Regions from separate parts of the Homo sapiens genome. Here region 1 is linked to region 2. The links are contacts of gene promoters, found by promoter capture Hi-C in human tissues and cell types (Jung and others, 2019). All regions are on one chromosome and are shown on one strand. Each heading gives the region's core, a stretch centred on a gene start or on the middle of the fragment in contact. The rest is flanking DNA. Distances are from core to core; before and after follow the strand shown.

Region 1 (3,044 bases), core at 166-2,665, 69 kb before region 2:
CTGAACTGCACACTTCATTAAATGGTTAAAATGGTCAATTTTATATTATGTATATGTTGTATGTAACTCATAAAAATTATGTAAAGAAGCTCCACTTCACTTTTAATAATATAAATACAAATTAAAACTATACTAAGGTAACATATTTTGCTGATGAGAATGTAAATTGGTATAATCTTATGGTGATTAATTTGACACTATCTCTTAAAATTATAAATGCACATGACCCTTGGTCTAATAATTTCATCTTTAGGAATTTATTTACAGATATAGTTGTACAAATGTGATATCACAAATGTATATGGTTACTACCTCCATTGCTTGTAATAGGAAAAAAGGATTGGGCTAATCACAGAACACCTACACAGTGGGTATTATATAGCAAGAAGAAAAAGAATGACAGCTATTCATGACATATTGTGAAAAAGTAAAGTTCAGAACACTGTTTTAATATAATGCTTTTTAAGCCAGCAAAGCGGAAGAAATAAGGCATATTTGCACTTGCTTGCATAGGCATAAGGAAACTCTAGTTGGGTTTTGCCAGTAGGGGCACCAGCAGGAGATCAGAGGGAAAGAGGAGCATAAGGTTGGAGAGCCACCTCCCTAGTTCCCTCCCTGTGGGGTCATGCACCTCTCAACTGCAGGCCAATGGCTCTGTCAGAAGGTCCTCCCTCACTGCTCTCTCTCTCTCTGTGGGTTCTAGTAATTTGTCCTGCACATCAAATCTAACCTCTTCAGCCTAGCTTCATCAACTGCTCCCCTTCCTGCTCTAACAGGCAAACAGATTTGTCAGTTGCTTCCTTACTTCCCACTAATGTCCCTGAGGATATCTGGAAACATTAACACATGACTCTACATTTTCACAGCACTCACTGTTTAAAAAGCACATTTTCACAACTAAGAAACAGTATTTGCTATTCACAGGAACATGGAGAGTACACAGGAAGAAGGAATTATTACACCAATGATATGGTTTGGCTGTGTCCCCACTGAAATCTCAACTTGCATTTATCTCCCAGAATTCCCACATGTTGTGGGAGGGACCCAGTGGGGAGGTAATTGAATCACGTGGGCTGGTCTTTCCCATGCTATTCTCGTGACAGTGAATAAATCTCATGAGATCTGATGGGTGTATCAGGGGTTTCTGCTTTTGCTTCTTCCTCATTTTCTCTTGTCGTCGCCATGTAAGAAGAGTCTTTCACCTCCCACCATGATTCTAAGGCCTCCCCAGCCATGGGGAACTGTAAGTCCAATTAACCTTTTTTCATTCCCAGTTTCGAGTATGTTTTTATCAGCAGTGTGAAAACGAACTAATACAGTAAATTGGTACCAGTAGAGTGGGGCATTGCTGAAAAGATACCCGAAAATGTGGAAGTGACTTTGGAACTGGGTAACAGACAAAGGTTGGAACAGTTTGAAGGGCTCAGAAGAAGACAGGAAAATGTGGGAAATTTTGGAACTTCCTAGAGACTTGTTGAATGGCTTTGCCCAAAATGTTGACAGCGATATGGACAATAAAATTCAGGCTGAGGTGGTCTCAGATGGAGATGAGGAACTTGTTGGGAACTGGATCACAGGTGACTCTTGTTATGTTTTAGCAAAGAGACTGGTAGCATTTTGCCCCTGCCCTAGAGATTTGTGGAACTTTGAACTTGAGAGAGATGATTTAGAGTATCTGGTGGAAGAAATTTCTAAGCAGCAAAGCATTCAAGAGGTAACCTGGGTGTTGTTAAAGGCATTCAGTTTTATAAGGGAAGCAGAGCATAAAGTTTGGAAAATTTTCAGCCTGACTATGTGATAGAAAAGAAAAGCCCATTTTCTGGGGAGAAATTCAAGTTGGCTGCAGAAATTTGCATAAGCAGCAAGGAGCCTAATGTTAATTTCCAAGACCATGGGAAAAATGTCTCCAGGCCATATCAGAGAACTTCCTGATAGCCCCTCCCATCAGGCCTGGAGGCCCAGGAGGAAAAAGTGGTTTCGTGGGCTGGGCCCAGGGTCCCCATGCTGTGTGCAGCTTAGGGGCTTGGTGCCCTGTGTCCCAGCTGCTCCAGCCATGGCTGAAAGGGGCCAACATATAGCTTGGGCTGTGGCTTCAGAGGGTGGAAGCCCCAAACCTTGGCAGCTTCCACAAGGAGTTGAGTGTGTGGGTGCACAGAAGTGAAGAATTGAGGTTTGGGAACCTCCACCTAGATTTCAGATGTATGGAAACGCCTGGATGCTCAGGCAAAAGTTTGCTGCAGGGGTGAGGTCCTCATGAAGAACCTCTGCTAGGGCAGTGCAGAAGGGAAATGTGGGGTCAGAGCCCCCATGCAAAGTCCCTACTGGGGCACTGCCTAGTGGAGCTGTGAGAAGAGGGCCATTGTCCTCCAGACCCCAGAATGGTAGATCCAGTGACAGCTTGCTCCATGCACCTGGAAAAGCCACTCAACGTCAGCCCATGAAAGGAGCCAGGAGGGAGGCTGTACCCTGCAAAGTCACAGGGGCAGAGCTGCCCAAGACCCTGGGAACTTACCTCTTGCATCAGCCTGACCTGAATGTGAGACCTGGAGTCAAAGGAGGTCATTTCAAAGCTTTAAAATTTGGCCCGCTGGATTTCAGACTTCCTCGGGCCCTGTAACCCCTTTGTTTTGGCCAATTTCTCCCATTTGAAATGGCTGTATTTACCCAATACCTGTACCCCCATTGTATCTAGGAAGTAGCTAGCTTGCTTTCAATTTTAAAGGCTCACAGGCGGAAGGGACTTGCCTTGTCTCAGATGACATTTTGGACTGGACTTTTGGGTTAATGCTGAAATGAGTTAAGACTTTGGGGGACTGTTGGGAAGGCATGATTAATTTTGAAATGTGAGGACATGAGATTTAGGGGGGCCACGGGTGGAATTATATGGTTTGGCTGTGTCTCCACTGAAATCTCAACTTGAATTTTATCTCTCAGAATTCCCACGTGTTGTGGGAGGGACCCAGTGGGGAGGTAATTGAATCACGTGGGCTGGTCTTTCCCATGCTATTCTCCTGATAGTGAATAAATCTCATGAGATCTGATGG
Region 2 (3,135 bases), core at 578-3,077:
CTGTTAAGCATATAAAACAGCATTCTGGACAGATGCTTGGCAGAGAAAAGGAAAGAAGGGCTCTGCTAGAGAGAAGTGGATCTTAAGGTGAGCAGAGTTGGGGCCACTGCACATAAGATTGAGCTTAACTTCATGAGAAGCCAAGGTTTAATGTGACACTGGAATCTCATGGTAGCCATCCTAGAGTGGATTCTCAAGGAGATTCACTGTGGTATCAAAGGGCCCTTACTGTGATGGGTCTCCTGACAAGACCCATGAAGAAACATAAAATTGACCATCTCTTTGACCCAGTTTTCCTGCTTATGAAAGTGGCACCCCAGGGGACAGTTTCAAAATGGGGGGGAGGAGTGTCAGGGAAGTTATCTGTATAAAGATCGATGTTTGTTAAACCATACTAAAAGATGCTTATAGCCACTTCATTCCCTATAGTGAAATAATGATGTACATTAAGCTGATGAACTATTAGGCAACAATTAAAAATAACTAGGAAGCTCGGTTTTAGAAATGTTAAAGAAAGAAGAACCAAATGGTGTGTATACACTGATTACACATTCCATGGAAACCTGTGCAGATCATAAGTTGGACACAGAGATACAAAGCCTTTTCTTTTTAAGGAAAAGGTGATTATTTTTGGAAAAGCAATAAAACCTGGGTTCCCAGCAAAGACAGTGGCACAGTTACCAGACTCACTTGCAACCTGGGAGACCTGGGCTGGGAGCAAGGTCCACTCTTGTATTTTTTGATTTTCAAAAACCGTGAACAACTATGGCTGTGCATGGAGAGGCTGGTGTGGGGTGGGGTGCGGGGAGGTGCTCTGTTCAACCGCAGGGAATAATGACCAAAAAAAAAAAGGCGGGGGGGAGGGGGAAGGAATGCAGTACACCCCACAGAAAATGCTTAAAACCTGGCCAAACTGTTACTAAGCATGTGAGCTTTCAGACTTAGGGAGAATGTGGCAATTAGAAATGTAGTGGAGGGCCGGGTGCAGTGGCTCACACCCGTCATCCCAGCACTTTGGGAGGATGAGGCAGATAGATCATCTGAGGTCAGGAGCTCGAGACCAGCCTGGCCAACATGGGTGAAACCCCATTTCTACTAAAAATACAAAAATTAGCTGGACGTGGTGGTGCATGCCTGTAATCCCAGCTACTCGGGAGGCTGAGGCAGGAGAATCACTTGAACCCGGGGAGTGGAGGTTGCAGTGAGCCACTGCACTCCAGCCTAGGCAGCAGAGCGGGACTCCATCTCCAAAAATAAATAAATAAATAAATAAATAACAAAAACAAAAGAAATACAGTGGAGAAAGAAGCTGTTTCAATTGAGGGTGGAACAGATGCAATATTTCTGGCCACTCCTACCACTGGACAAACACACACTTACTATGAGTGACTATATAGATGCAGCCTGGGATTTACTAAGAAACACCATAACAGAACATCGATAGGCCAGGTGACAGCTTTTCACTACAACACCTTACTTCCTTTGAACATTTGGATTTTCTAGTTTTCCTAGACAATGACCTACACCCATCATATCATTCCTGGCCTCTCGCCCCCAGTACACACACTTTAAACATGAAGATAATGTCCACAGCCCACCGGGGCAAAACACCTCACTCAGCCAGCTAACAGGGGCAGGCAGGATGACTGCAGTAGTTTCATCTACTCTCATTTTTTCAGTGGGTCAATGAATTCCTTTCAGTGATCATCACTCACCTTAGCCATGTAGTTTTTTATAGGAACTGCTTGCCGAATAACCGACTTAGTTCAATTTACTGACTTAAAAGGACACAGTATGGCATGGGCTACTCCAGGTTGTGTTAACTGTAAAGACCAGTACCCATCCCCGTTCCAAATTCTAAACTCTACTACCTCATCTGCATGTCACAACAAGGTCAGCTGAAAACCTCCCTGTGGGCTGCACTTGAGCTTTCACAGGGAATAAACGACATCACAAGTCTGGCAAATGTATGGCTAAACGCAGCAGGAATCTCATGTATATGGATCTGAATGTTCTTTGGGAATTCTGCAGCAAATAAAATGATTTATTGAGCCAATTCAAACGAACTCTATCAAAACACACAAAGGCCTAGAGGAGAGATTACAATGAACGTAAATAATTCAAGGCAATTTTTGATCTAAAGCATTTTGCTTAGCTCTACAAAGGCATGAATGAGGTGTGGTCACGTTTTTGTATAGGAGGTTTTGCCACTACTTGCTCCCAAGTTAAACATGGCCACAGAGTATTGTGAATGTTTAATGTATGCCTGGGAAAAATTTATTGGCCAATACTTTAGTTACTAATGGGAGGATTATGTATAGTCGGACCATAAAGCGTGTAAAAGCAGATCACTTAGAGCCGCTCTGTCCAGGACAGCAGCACTAGATGCATGGGCCCTTTGAGCACCTGAAATAAGGTTAGCATGACTAAGGAACTGGGTTTTATTTTTTCAAACTTGATGTTCAATTCAGTTACTGAAAAACTTTACTATGTTTAACTATCTTTGGAACAACTTGGATATGAATTTGTGTTTTTCAACTGCATATTTTACAAAATCTAAATACAGATCAAGTATTCCTGATGAAACGTTAGCATCCAAATTATGCTATAACCAGATACACAGTGAGTTTTGAATTCTTAGTGTGAAGAATAATTTTAGATCTCACTAATAATTTGCATATATTGAGTACATATTGAAATATTTTGGATATGCTGAGTTAAATAAAATATGTTATAATTTCACTTTTTAAATATGGTTGCTAGAAAATTGAAAATGACACTCTGGGCTTATTTTTTTTTTTTTAATTTTGAGACGGAGTTTCACTCGTTGCCCAGGCTGAAGTGCAATGGCGCAATCTCAGCTCACGGCAACCTCCACCTCCCAGGCTCCAGCGATTCTCCTGCCTCAGCCTCCCAAGTAGCTGGGATTACAGGCATGCGCCACAGATTTATTTTTTATTTCTGTTGGAGTGTGCTGTTTTAAGAGTATGGAGCTGACATTTAAGAATTCTAATGCCATCTGCTGGATACACTGGTACAAGACAGGCCCGTGTCACAGTAAGACTGTGATGGTGTGTCAATACTCAAAGAACTGGATCTGAAACAGAAAAGGGCTCACAAAACACTGAACTAAAT

Evidence for each region. The method cuts DNA at HindIII sites, captures the fragments that hold promoters and counts their contacts. A contact is called where the count stands out against the background at its distance.
Region 1: a fragment that was not itself captured here is called in contact with the fragment with the promoter of C3orf20 in region 2 in 2 of the 25 tissues and cell types used here (lymphoblastoid cells and mesendoderm cells).

What each region holds. Positions count from the first base shown.
Region 1 is chr3:14,742,842-14,745,885 of GRCh38, reverse strand. The region is part of intron 12 of C3orf20 (chromosome 3 open reading frame 20); the gene reads right to left. Among named protein-coding and RNA genes, the nearest start is that of LINC02011, 67 kb to the left of the region's middle. The HindIII fragment of the contact is 8,404 bases long and covers 1-3,044 here.
Region 2 is chr3:14,673,833-14,676,967 of GRCh38, reverse strand. It overlaps C3orf20 (chromosome 3 open reading frame 20), which reads right to left and starts at 1,827. Exons shown (of 17, transcript NM_032137.5): 1 at 1,716-1,827. The HindIII fragment of the contact is 10,656 bases long and covers 1-3,135 here.